Regions from separate parts of the Homo sapiens genome. Here region 2 is linked to region 1. Evidence: promoter capture Hi-C in 16 types of primary human blood cells and fetal thymus (Javierre and others, 2016). All regions are on one chromosome and are shown on one strand. The core of a region is centred on a gene start or on the middle of the fragment in contact, and the rest is flanking DNA. Distances in the headings are between cores, read along the strand shown.

The links. The method cuts DNA at HindIII sites, captures the fragments that hold promoters and counts their contacts. A CHiCAGO score of 5 or more calls a contact.
Region 2: a fragment that was not itself captured here is called in contact with the fragment with the promoter of RPS4Y1 in region 1 in 1 of 17 cell types (naive CD4 T cells); the score reaches 5.1 in naive CD4 T cells.

What each region holds. Positions count from the first base shown.
Region 1 is chrY:2,837,432-2,844,138 of GRCh38, forward strand. It overlaps RPS4Y1 (ribosomal protein S4 Y-linked 1), which reads left to right and starts at 4,171. Exons shown (of 7, transcript NM_001008.4): 1 at 4,171-4,196; 2 at 4,734-4,811; 3 at 6,646-6,707. The coding sequence starts at 4,194. The HindIII fragment of the contact is 6,443 bases long and covers 825-6,707 here.
Region 2 is chrY:2,951,035-2,957,741 of GRCh38, forward strand. ZFY (zinc finger protein Y-linked) reads left to right here. Exons shown (of 8, transcript NM_003411.4): 2 at 2,875-2,963. The coding sequence starts at 2,903. Among named protein-coding and RNA genes, the nearest start is that of ZFY, 19 kb to the left of the region's middle. The HindIII fragment of the contact is 6,095 bases long and covers 413-6,507 here.

The DNA.
Region 1 (6,707 bases), core at 2,921-5,420:
GACCTCAGAACCCCTGCCAAGGGCCTCTCCTTTGGAGAGGGTGAGGTCTGAAGAATTCCCCTACCTGTGCATCCCCCAATCTTAGAGTCAGATGTCTCTGACCTTAGGAGTGTACAAGTGCCAGTTGCATGTTTTCCCTCCAGAGGGAGGGAGGAAGAGTTTTTATTTCTACAAGCGGTTACAGGGAGAAGGCCTGGAAATTATTGCCAGGCCGACTCAAAATTACAAAGTTTTCCAGAGCTTCTATAGCTTCTAAGCTCTATATCTACATGTAAGTGTGCATTCATCTAAAGACATATGTGAATACTTCTTTTAATCTACAAGCAAGGTCTGAGTCCTGAAGACTTTCCTCTGGAGTCTCCGTAAATTTGCTTAATCTCAGTGGGTGCAGGTGCTGGGATGATTATACTTGTCACCTGCTAAATCATAAAGGTTTGAGAAGTTCCTTCAGACCCCCTAAGAAACTTTTTTGTGAAGGCCTGAAGAGTTTCTTCAGATCCCCAGTAAAACTTGTTTAATCATGCTTTTAAGGTTCAGGAAAGGCCTGGGGAAAACTCTTGGTGGACTTTTGTTGCATTCCAGCCTTTGTATAAGGACACTGGCTTTTTCAGCTTTTAATATTTAACTTAACCCATCAGTCAGTGCTGAAACAGTTGTTATAGAGGCCTGTGTTAGTGAGACCTGGCCTGCCACATTACCACATCCCTTAGCCTGTTTGGCTAAGGCTCTTTCAACACACTTAGGCCATGTGAAAAGTGAAAACGCATGCCTGGCACAGAATAAGTGCTCAGTAAACACATCAATTTGCTTACTGTTTGGAAGGAAGCTTTATCACCCAATCCCTGATTTAAGGTAGGAGTGTATATTGCCAAGTAGTTTGTTACATTTTCTTACACCTTGATTATTTTGAAATTATGCATATGGCACTACTCAACTAAGAGAGTGTGAAAGGAAAAATAAATGTTGGAACCCCCAAATCACTACGAGGCCAAAGAGAAAAGTCAAGCTGGGAACTGTGGCAGGCAAACCTGAGATGAGAATAAGACAAAGCTAAAAAAAAAAGCTACATAGGGCCGGGAGCGGTGGCTCATGCCTGTAATCCCAGCACTTTCGGAGGCTGAGACGGGTGCATCACGAGGTCAGGTGATCAAGACCATCCTGGCTAACGTGGTGAAACCCCGTCTCTACTAAAAATACAAAAAAATATATATATATATATTAGCCAGGCATGGTGGTGGGCGCCTGTAGTAACAGCAACTTGGGAGGCGGAGGCAGGAGAATGGCGTGAACCTGGGAGGCGAGCTTGCAGTGAGCTGAGATCGTGCCACTGCACTCCAGCCTGGGTGACAGAGAAAGACTCTGTCTCAGGAAAAAAAAAAAAAAAAGCTACATAGATTCCTCACAATTGCCCCAAAAGAGAAATTCATTGTGGACCTCAAGGTCTTTTTTTTGAGACAGAGTCTGGCTCTGCTACCCAGGCTGGAGTGCAGTGTCGCGATCTCGGCTCACTGCAACCTCTGCCTCACACATTCAAGCGATTCTCCTGCCTCAGCCTCCCGAGTAGCTGGGACTACAGGCACGTGCCACCATGCCTGGCTACTTTTTTGTATTTTCAGTAGAGACAGCGTTTCACCGTGTTAGCCAGGATCGTCTTGATCTCCTGAGCTCGTGATCTGCCCGCCTCTACTATGAGCTTTCATTTTTGTCACTGCAGGAAAGGCTTGACTGCTGGCATCCTTATAATTTGATAAGGCCATGATTTCCCATGCTTCCCATTCCATGAACGTTAATGATAGGAACTGGAAGCTGGGTTCGTTTTTTGTTCTTAGCCAGTTGAGTAGGATAACGGGAGAATAAGAAAAGAAGGTTTACATCTCCTGCAACATTTGCAAGTCTACTCTGAGCTGCATCACACATAGGAATCAGGGACCACACCTGGAACAGATTAAAAAAAAAAAAAAGGTCCTTCCCCCTTCTGGACAGGACAATTATTCCTATTCACTCCTTGGCATTCAGGTAACACAAGAGAGTGATCCTAGCTAATTGCCCTCAATTTCCAAGGAACTACAGGGAAACAGCCACTGAAAGACCAAAAAAGAAAAGAAAAAAAAAATTATAAAAGACCCAGATACCTTAAACAAACTGAGCAGTGGTGATTTGGTGCCTCCACACGGAAACTCCTAGATTCACTGCCCACAGCCAGAAACCTGCAGTTGCCTCTGTGTTTAGGCACTGCCCACCAAGGGTCTCAAATTGGAAAGCGCAGAGGTTCTACGCCCAGCCATGCACCTCAAGATCTTTACTCCAAAGCAGTTCTGTTTAATTTCACCCTGGCGACCTACATTGGTAGCTCATCTTCACAGGTGCAAGACAGAAAGTCCTCCATGTGCACATCTGCAACAAATGCCTATCTCATTGTTTCCTCTGCTACACTGTTTATGTAAAAATACAGACTCACTGAGCCAGACTATGAAAGTAATTGACTATTCCTCTACCCTTCCTGTTTTTTTTTTTTTTTTTTGACAGAGTTTCCAAAGCGATTCTCCTGCCTCAGCCTCCTGAGTAGCTGGGATTACAGGCATGTGCCAACACGCCCAGATAATTTTTGCATTTTTAGTAGAAACAGGGTTTCTCCATGTTGGTCAGGCTGGTCTTGAACTCCCAACCTCAGGTGATCCATCTGCCTCAGCTTCCAAAAGTGCTGGGATTACAGGTGTGAGCTGCCACACCCGGCCTCTACCTTTCCTGTTACAGTTAAATTGTGTATTTAGTGAAAGGCTGATCAGAGACCCAAAATAATGCAACCATTTGTCTCTTACGACATCAAACTCTACCTTCCCACTGCCCCAGCCCCCCACCAAGCCACCCCAATGTCCTGCACCATGTACATCTTACATCTTGCCTTCCTAAAATGTATGAAACCAACCTGTGCACTGGCCGAGAGAGAGAGAGAGAGAGAGAGAGAGAGAGAGAGAGAGAGAGAGAATAACCAGAAAGGAACACAAGGAAACTTTTGGAGGTGATGGAGATGTTCATTACCTCGATTGTGATGGTGGTATCGTGGATTTACGCCTATGTCCATACTCATCAAATTGTACACATTAAGGAAGTGCAGCTTCATTTGACTGGTTGTTTTTTTGTTTTAATTTAATTTAATTTAGTTTATTTTGAGACGGAGTCTTGCTCTGTCACCCAGGCTGGAGTGCAGTGGCGCGATCTCGGCTCACTGCAAGCTCCGCCTCCCGGGTTCACGCCATTCTCCTGCCTCAGCCTCCCGAGTAGCTGGGACTACAGGCGCCCGCCACCACGCCCGGCTAATTTTTTGTATTTTTATTTTTAGTAGAGACGAGGTTTCACCGTGTTAGCCAGGATGGTCTCGATCTCCTGACCTCGTGATCCGCCCACCTCGGCCTCCCAAAGAGCTGGGATTACAGAAGTGAGCCACCGTGCCCGGCCTGGCTGGTTGTTTTTTGTATATCAATTCTGTCAGGCGGACGCGCGTGAAAAATTCCAATGGAAGCTGTGACCACACACACGCCTGCGCAGTACAACTTACATAGCGGACTTCACTCTCTTAAAAGTGAATTGTTTTGCAGGTTTTACGACATGGACAGAGCTGTGCAGCCATCATCACGAGCTAATCCAAAGCAAGGTATTCGACTTAAAATTCAAATGCCATGAAACCTATCCTTTCAATGTTTACGGTACAGACGATTTTAGTACTTTCCCAAACCTATGAAATTGGCCCCAATCCTGAACAAGGAATGATTTGTCTCTGAAACAAATCATGATTTTGCAATCACAGCATGTCACAGTCACAAGGAATCATATAGGTTATTTCTCACGATTGGCATTTTTTTTTAAGGCTCCTAAATCGTGCTGTTTCAGGACTTTTGCTAAATATTTTGAAGGTCGGCGAAAGATAAGTTTAAGAGTGTAAACTGCGTCCTCCCAGCTCAGCCAACTTGACGGGGGGTAGGCACAACAAAAAGTCCTGCGGCATAACTGACACCTGTAAATCAGTATCAGAAACTGAAAATGCTAAGAAATTCAGTTCCAGGATATGAACTCTACAGCGGAAGAATAAGAAACCGGAACTAAACTTCTCACTCATCTGACTTCCTGCGGTTTACGACAACAGACTTTGGTTGCACCGGAAAAGAACAGATTCTCTTCCGTCGCAGAGTTTCGCCATGGTAAGACCGATAGTTCCTAACTCCTAGTATATCTGCCTCCATCATTTGAAAAAGGGCCGTTCTACCTTGGCGATGTTTCACTTTTCGGTCGCCCCTACTTGGTGGGTGGGAATGCTGCTGGTGCTGCTTCAGGAAACCCGATTTGGAGAGGGGAGGTCTGAGAAGAGTGTGTCTCGTTGTGCTCGGTCTGGGGGCCGTCACGTGAGTCCATCCTTGACGCAGCCCGGCAGTGGCTTTTTACCCGGATTAGCTTATTTTCACACGTTGAAGCAGCCTCAGATTCGCTTGGAGAGCACTGTGGACGCTCTCTTGACGGATGCTAGGGAGACCCGCCAAGTTTTCAAAGGTCTGTGCTTTGCGTGGTCTCTTCTGGGGTCTGGCAGGAAGTAATATTTGTTCAAAACGGGGCTTGAGTATGGGCTGGGCGATCTTTTCTCCTTGAGTCAGGTATTACCCGTTAGCAGTTCCTACAGCTGAAGATGAGGGCATTTCACTGTCAGCGGAAACTAATTTCTCTGAGTTTCGTGTCCTTTTCAGGCCCGGGGCCCCAAGAAGCACTTAAAGCGTGTTGCAGCGCCGAAGCATTGGATGCTTGACAAACTAACGGGTGTATTTGTGAGTATAACTTTGTTTTTTGTGGTTTTTTTTTGTTTTTTTTAGTCAAGAGTGCATGCTAAATACCTGTGGCTCGGTATTTCTTGGGGGCGGCGTTTGCTTGTTTGTTATGTGGGATTTTCGTTGGTAAAGACTTCCCGCACCCTGAACTTGTCCTTGCACTTTTCTGTGCAACAAAGGGCCAGGATGTCACGTCCCGATGGTTTCCTTTGCTCTTTTAGCTCGCCACTTCAGAGGGCACTTCCTGAGCCCAGAGCTGGGTGGGTTAATGAATGTGTCCAATTCCACATAAGAAAGGAGTTCAGTGACAGTCCGCTGAGTCCCCCATTAATAATCAAATGCGTTTAATTTAAAGTTACCCCTTGTTTTAGAGGGTGGAGTAGCTGCTTTTTACGTTGAGCCCGAGTTACTGGTTTAATAGTAAAGGCTACAGGAGCCCACGAAACAAGGGCAAGAAGTTGTGTGAGAAAGTCTGGAGGCTCTTGAACCCAACCTTGAAGACCTGGCAGGATGAGGGCAGTATACTCAGAGGCACAGTAGGCAAGCATCTCACAAGGAGACTAGGCAATTTCCACATTGATGGTGTGGTCACACTAGGAGAGAGTGGTTAAAACTGTAAAGTCTTGGTCTTCTGAGACAGAGAGGAGCCAGTGTGAAGAAGACAGAATCGAGGCGCTTAAGATGCCAAGGGTTTTTTGAGCAGGAATAAATGTGGTAAGAGACTATATTTAGCTCTGAGGGTCTCCATTTAGGAGGCACTTAGTAACTAACTTGATTTGGCCTCTTCTTGGTACAGTTTGAACTCTGAACACTGAGTAGTAGAAACTTGTCTTCCTTGTTCTGATATTTTCAGAGAGAACATAGGCAGTGTGTTGGCTGGGGACCTGGATTTGCAACCTGTCCCTGTCAGTTTCTGCTTCCAAGTGCTACCTCTGCTACTGTCACCTACTATTTGACCTCCCTGGATGGGCCATTGTTTTCTCTATTGTTAAGTGGATGAGCAAGGCACTCTTTAAGAAGACTTGCTGGGAACTTGGTCCCTTAGTCTTGTGGGTTCCTCTCCTTTTCCCTGTGACATTGATGAAAGTGTGTGGTTAATGATCGCGAGTCCGTTTTAAGAGAGACAAAGCTAGAGAGGGATCTGTAGAAGCAGCTTGAACGGTCTCCATTGGAAGAGATTCTTGTGTGATCCAAACTTAAAAGGTAATTGGGGAGTGGTGTTCAAGACAGACCTTGAGACTTTTATATGTACTGGTAGCAGATATCCTAAGGACAGTATAACACCAAAACTGCGAGAGTATAGGTTACAGGATTTGTTGCGGTGTGAATTTGATGACACTTAAGCCGGCAAGCAGCCAAGAGAGGAGGAACGCACATTGGGTATTACAGGGTGGTCCTGCAACATCGGCAGGGCTTGTGTGGAACTTTGAAGCCTGGCATGGTGAGAGAGTAGTAGAATATGTCTTCATAAGGTTTTGGGTAAAGCGTAAGCTACACTTGAGATACATGGGATGTAGTGTTGTGTTCAAGGGAGGTTTGAAGAAGGAGTATGAGTGGCAGTGGTGCTTGGGGCAGGGCAAAATGGGGAGATGGTTGTGAGGCTAGATTTGGGGAAGGAAGGGGCACAAAATGAGATTTCCATGGTTGGGGATATGACCTTCCTAACAAGACAGACCTCTAAACTAATAAAATAATTGCCCTCTTGTATTCCTCTTCCCCACAACAAGTTAAGTTCAGCTGAACTTATGCAGAACTAAAGTACGTCATCTGCTCAATCTGGTTACATAAGGAGTGGATCTTCTTAGATTAGGTTACCTTTCCTTGTCTTCTACAGGCACCTCGTCCATCGACAGGTCCCCACAAGCTGAGGGAATGTCTTCCTCTGATCGTCTTCCT
Region 2 (6,707 bases), core at 2,210-4,709, 110 kb after region 1:
GCAGTTATTGACCCTGCTAATGACAGTTGACTAGGTATAGCTCCACTTTTTCAAGACCTCACCTCCTAGAAAATTCTAGGATGTTGAGTGCCAGGGTAAAAACATAAAGATCGTTTGAAGAATGACATGCTGTCCAGCTAGGTTGCAAAGTTGAGTAATAACAGTAAATAAGTCATGTGGTAGCTTGGGTTAATAATGTGGAGGTCACTGAATATTGGAGACTGCTTCTTGGTAAGGGAGTGATCAAAGCAGTGCTTCAAGAAGATTCATCTGGCTACAGATTGTAGGAATGCCTTGTTAGTTGGCATTACAAGACCCCCTTCTTATAATAGGTTTCCTAGTCATTTGTTTTGGAAGTGTTACAAAGGCCATTTCAGAAACTATTTTCATTTCTAGGGATCAGAAAATAGGAAGCTTAGAGTGATTGGTGATAATGGGAATACAAGCAGGGCAAACATAACAGAGAAATTGTGGAGAAGAAATTGACAAGATCTGAGAAACCAACTGTCAGGGAAGGAGGAAAAGGCCATAGTGATTGTGCCAGGAAAAATCTGGGTTTTAATTTTTGAAGATGTTCAGTAAACGGTCTGATGGAAATTTTAGGTCCTTCTCAGCGTGTGGATTTTGGGGATCATCTTCACGTAAGTCGTCATTAAAAACTGTGGAAATAAATGAGAAAGTAGTAGAGAGGAAAGCTGAATGTGAAACCTTGGACAAGACTATAGTAGCCATCGGTTAAGAAGGTGAGAAGAGAACTAAGATATCATATAAACAAAGAGGTAGGAGGGAGTTTCAAAATTAAAGAAACTGATCATCTATCAGACTCTAACAGACAGGTAAGGAAGATGAATACCTGAAACAGGAAAATTACGCTACAAGTTGATCTTTTTTTTTTTTTTTTTGAGATGGAGTCTCGCTCTGTCGCCCAGGCTGGAGTGCAGTGGCACGATCTCGGCCCACTGCGAGCTCCGTCTCCCGGGTTCACACCATTCTCCTGCCTCAGCCTTCCGAGTAGCTGGGACTACAGATGCCCGTCACAGTGCCCGGCTAATTTTTTGTATTTTTAGTAGAGACAGGGTTTCACTGTCTGTACTGTCAAGACACCAGGTGGTCTTGATCTCCTGACCTTGTGATCCACCTGCCTCAGCTTCCTAAAGTCCTGGGATTACAGGCGTGAGCCACCATGCCTGGCCCACAAGTTGATCTTTTATTAGAACTAATGAAATTGCTGTTTTTAGGAAAATTGGAAGGTCACTTCAATAATCCAACAAATCACATTTATTCCATCATTCATTGCCTTAATTTCATGTGGTTTTCTTTAATTATGCAGAGAAGATTAGTTTGCATTTATAATTTTATAATTACATTTTTTTAAGAGGGGAAAAATTAATGAAGCCAGAGATTGTTTGGGTAGAGGGAGCAGTGACAGCTTATTTAGAGCAGGTGCCCTTTTTCTTTTTCTGTGGTTGACAAAATATTAGTGTAGTCATCATGGCCTTTTTATTTGAAGCAGTTTGAATGTCATAAAACACACTTTCTTTAAATTGAGTAGATCTGTTTCAGAGAAACACTTTGGAAATCCATTGGTTTCTCACTTGCATATTGCCTTATCATATAGTTTAATATTTGAAAATTGACACACATAAGTGACCATAGCATGTGCTAAAAATACAGTAAGGGAGCTGGACATAGTGGCATGTGTCATTAGTCCTAGCTGCTTGGGAGGCTGAAGTAAGAGGATTACTTGAGCCTAGGAGTTGGAGGCTGCAGTGAGCCATGATCATGCCACTGCACTCCAGTCTGGGTGACAGGGTGAGACCCTGTCTCTGAGGGGAGAGAATGGGGAGGGCTTTTAAGCTACACAGAAATCTGAGGAGTGCTTATAATTATTAGGAATTTTGAGTTTTTTACCATTTTGTTAATTTACTGTAGAAAGACTGGAGACTATGTTAAATATAGAGATGTAATACAGTCTTGCAGCAAAAACCTACAGAATGTGTTAAAGTTGAGAGTTAATCATGGGTGCCAGACACAATAACATTCCTGTAATCCCAGTACTTTGTGAGGCTGAGGTGGGAGGATTGCTCAAGCTCAGGACTTTGACACCAGCCTGGGCAACATAGTTAGACCTTGTCTATACAAAAAGATACTTTAAAAATTAGCCAGGTTTGGTGACACATACTTGTAGTCCCAAGTAGTTGGGCTGAGGGGTGAGCATTGCTTGAGCCTGAGAAGTTGAGGCTGCAGTGAACTGTGCCACTTACAGTTTAGCCTGTATGACAGAGCCAGAGGCCCTGTTTACAAAAAAAAAAAAAAAAATCATGGGGGTTACTGATAGAAGGCAAGAGGGAGTCATCTGGTGTGTAAGAAATGTTCTGTTATCTTAATATAAATAATGCAAGTACCAGTTAACACTTACGTACTTAACATAAATAATGCAAATTCCAGTTAACACTTAGGTAAAAATTTGTTATGCTAAATACTTAAGCATTGTGAATTTTATATAAGATGATAATTGAACTTTTTAAAAAATCTAAACAAGCCAGATATGGCGGCCTGTAGTCCCACCCACTCAGTAGGCTGAGGGAGGAAGAATTACTTGAGCCCTGGAATACTAAGCTAGTGTGAGGAACATAGCAAGACCCAAAATCTTTAAAAAACAAAAAAACAGAAACACTGTCAATCTGATTTGATCTACCTGCCCTTTCCTGTCTTGTTGCAGCCCATGTATCCCTGGAAATCAATTTGTTCCCTTTAATTTTACATTGATAGCTTAGTAAAAAATAATTTGAGCATTTCAGAAATGTGAATATCATGACATTTTAATATGTGATATAAAAATTAATGTTTGGTATACTTTATTCCCTGGTTTAGGAGCTGTGACTAATGAGAATTAAAGGCCATGGATGAAGATGAATTTGAATTGCAGCCACAAGAGCCAAACTCATTTTTTGATGGAATAGGTATTACTATTTATTGGGTTGTTTCACTTCCCATCTGCCAGATTTTGAATTACTTACCAAAATTGCAGAATCTGATGTTAATCCATATTTAGGTACTTAGGTCCATACTTAGGTCCTGTCAGAATCTCATAGCCAACTCATAATCTTGTTAGTTAAGCCATCAATATCAAAATCTTACTGTTACCCTTCAGTTATTCCAGTTTTTCCAGTTATGCAACTAAAGCCTGCTAGTTCTCCCTTTGAAATGTTTTCTGTTTGTGCTAGTTTTCTATTTTTCTATTGGTACATTTCAGCAAATTTACTAATCTAAAACAGGACAAATTTATCTCAGAGTTCTATAGGTCAGAAATGTGGCTCAATTGAGTTCTGCGTGTAGAATTATACAAGGTTAAAATTAAGATGTTGGCCAGGTGTGGTGGCTCACATCTGTAATCTCATTGCTTTGGAAGGCTCAATTGTGAGGATTGCTTGAGATCAGGAATTGGAGACCATCGTGGGTGGTGGACAACCCAATGGAAACCTGTGTCTACAGAAAAAAAAATTTTTTTTTAATTAGCTGAGCATGGTGGTGCATATCTCTAGTTCTAGCTGCTCTGGAGGCTGAGGTAGGAGGATTGTTTTACCAGAAGTTAAAGGCTGTGGTGAGCTATAATGGCACAGCTGTACCCCAGCCTGGGTAACAGAACAAGACAGTGTCTCAAAAAATAAATAAATAAATAAATAAATAAATAAATAAATAAATAAATAAAATAAGCTATCTGCAGGGCTGGAGGCTCTTGACTTCGAAGAATATCCATACTTTTAGCCAAATTTAGTTTCTTTTTGTTGCACAATGGAGATACTGTTGTTCCCTACAGTTCATCATCCAGGGCCATTTTTTGCTTTCAGAGCCTGCCCACATTTCTTCTCATGCTTTGCATGGTGGTTTCCTGAAGCAGCAGTGAGTGGAGTCCATCTTATGTTTTTAGTCTTTCTGATCTTCCCCTCTATCACATCCGTCTTCTTGAATCTAGCCAGAAAACTATTCAGTTTAAGAGCTCACATGATTAGATTTGATGCACCAGGGTAATCCAAGATAATTGCCCAATTTTAAGTTCATAATCTTAATTATACCTGAAAAATTTCTTTTGCCATATCAAGTAACATATTTTCAAGATTTATAAGGATTAGTTTATGGACATCTTTGTGAAAGGACCATTCTCCCTGCCACCATCTTCACCCCGGTTCTCAAATATGTCTCTGGCAAATGTAAAATAACATCCACCCTCTCTTAAAGTTCCCAGTCCAAAAAAAAAAAATCTTACCTGAAATTAATCAGCTCAGAAGTCCTAAGTATCATTTAAATCAGATGCTTATTCTCTGGGTATCAGTCATTAAGTGCAACTCCTGGGACATAATTCCTCTTTATCTGCTTCCCAAAGTACAGTGGTAGGACAGTTTGGGATATTCTGGTTCAAACAGGGTGACATGAAAGGTAAGAGAAATTTGTCTGAAGAAATTTTGAAATGCAGCTGGACAAACTCCCATTAGGTTTCAAGACCTGGGAATAATCCTTTTTGGCCTGTGGCTCCGCCCTTTGAGTCTTCCTTGCCATTTTTTTCAAAGATAGCAGGTATTTGCAGCTGAATAGTTTTATTTCCTGCTTCCTGCCTCTGGAATTCTGTCAGTCCAACTGTCTTCATTATATTGATTCTGTGTCCCTTTCCGTTTAAGCTAGCAGTGCTTCTTTTGAAAAAAATTTTGCGTGTGTCATGGGGATTTATTGTATTAGGCAAGAGGCTAATATATTTTTTTTCTGAGATTATCCCATGTCTGTTTTTGACTTCTGCTAAAATGGTTGAAGTCCAATATCCTTAGATTTCTTAGAGGTGTTGGGTATGTGTAAGTCACACTTTTACTTGCTTGAAAAAGACTTAATTCTCTGGCCTTTTGATCTTTCCCTTTCCTTTCCCTCCACTTCCTTTCCTTTTTCTTTTTACCTTACCTTACCTTACTTTACTTTACCTTACCTTACCTTTCCTTACCCCTTGCCTTTTCTTTTTCTTTCCTCTTTCTTTTTCTTTCACCTTGGCTTTTCCCTTTCTTTCCTTTTTCCTTAACTTTTACTTTTCTTGTTTAATGATCGGGTGCCTGAAGGAATCTTTTGTTTTTTCTGAGGGTTCATGGAATAGTTGAGAATCACATACTGTTTTTTTCTCTCTCTCTAAATCAGCGTTCCCCACCTTTTTGAGTACCAGGGACTGGTTTCATGGAAGACAATTTTTCCAGAGACCTGGGAGTAGTGGGGTTCGGGGGATAGTTACTAGATGAATGAAGTGCATTACATTTATTGTGCACTTCATTTGTATTATTATTATGTGTAATATATAATGAAACAATTATACAGTTCACCATAATTTAGAATCAGTGGGAGCCCTGAGCTTGTTTTCCTGAAACTATGCCATCCCATCTGGGGGTAGGAGACAGATCATCAGGCATTAGATTCTTATAAGGAACATGCAACCTAGATCCCTCACGTGTGCAGTTTACAGTACGGTTTGCATTCCTATGAGAATGTAATGTTGCTTCTGACCTGACAGGAGGCGAGAGCTCAGGCAGTGATGCCGGTGATGGGAAGTGGCTGTAAATACAGATGAGGCTTTGCTCTGACAAGGAATCTCCTTAATTTAACCTCCCCTTTCACCCCCACCCCCCCCCCGCCCCCAAGATGGACAGAAAACTTCTGATTTTGTCATGTTTTGCTATCTTTTTGTTTAATAAATATTCCAACTATTCATTTTTCTCACTGAATTTTACTCTAAGCATTAAGTAGAAACAAGACCACTTGTCCAACACTTTGCTGAAATCTTCTGAGCTAAAGAGTTGATTTTTACAAGTTGTTTTTTCCACATAACCAAGGGAGACAATTTTGCTAAGTGGTTTGTCTTCAAGTTGTGCTTTCCACATAACCCAGGGAGACAGTTTTGCTAAGTGGTCTGTCTTTTTATGTAACAAAGCTCTTCTTTCCTTCAGATAGAAACTCACTTTTAAGCCCTTACAAGCAGTGTTACAAAACTCCAGATTTCTACTAGCAGTCATACATGACGTAGGTATTCTCTGAGTCCATGTAGGATTTCTCTACCTTGATCCCTTCTCCCTCTGGATTCTCACTGGCAGAGTTGTTACTGGTTTTTTTTTTTTGTTTTTGAGATAGGGTCTCACTGTGTCACCAGGGCTGAAGGGCAGTGACATGATTATGGCTCCTCACTGCAGCCTCAACCTTCTGGGCTCAAGTGATCCACCCGCCTCAGCCTCCTGAGTAGCTGGAACTACAGGCACACACCACCATGCCTGGGGAATTTTTTAAAATAGAGATGAGGTTTTGCTGTACTGCTCAGGCTGATCTTGAATTCCTGAGCTCAGGCTATCCTCCCACCTCAGCCTCCCAAAGTGTTGCGATTACAGGCATGAGCCACTGTGCCCGGCCTGTTATTTTTAACATTCATGTTTTTACTTATTGGTTTATTTAAGGAAATCTAGGCTTTTTTCCACTCAACAGAATCTAAGCTTTTCATTCTGTAAAAATAATTTTTTTTTTCATTTTCCTAAGAGCTGGAATTTCTCTTTATTCTTGTAAGAAATTTTACAGCTGGCACCTATCCAAGTGCAAAGCCACTTTACGTTTTTAGGTATTTGTATAAGCAGCTCTCCACTTCTCGACACCAAAATCTGAAATTATTTCTGTTACTGCAATGAAAATTACCA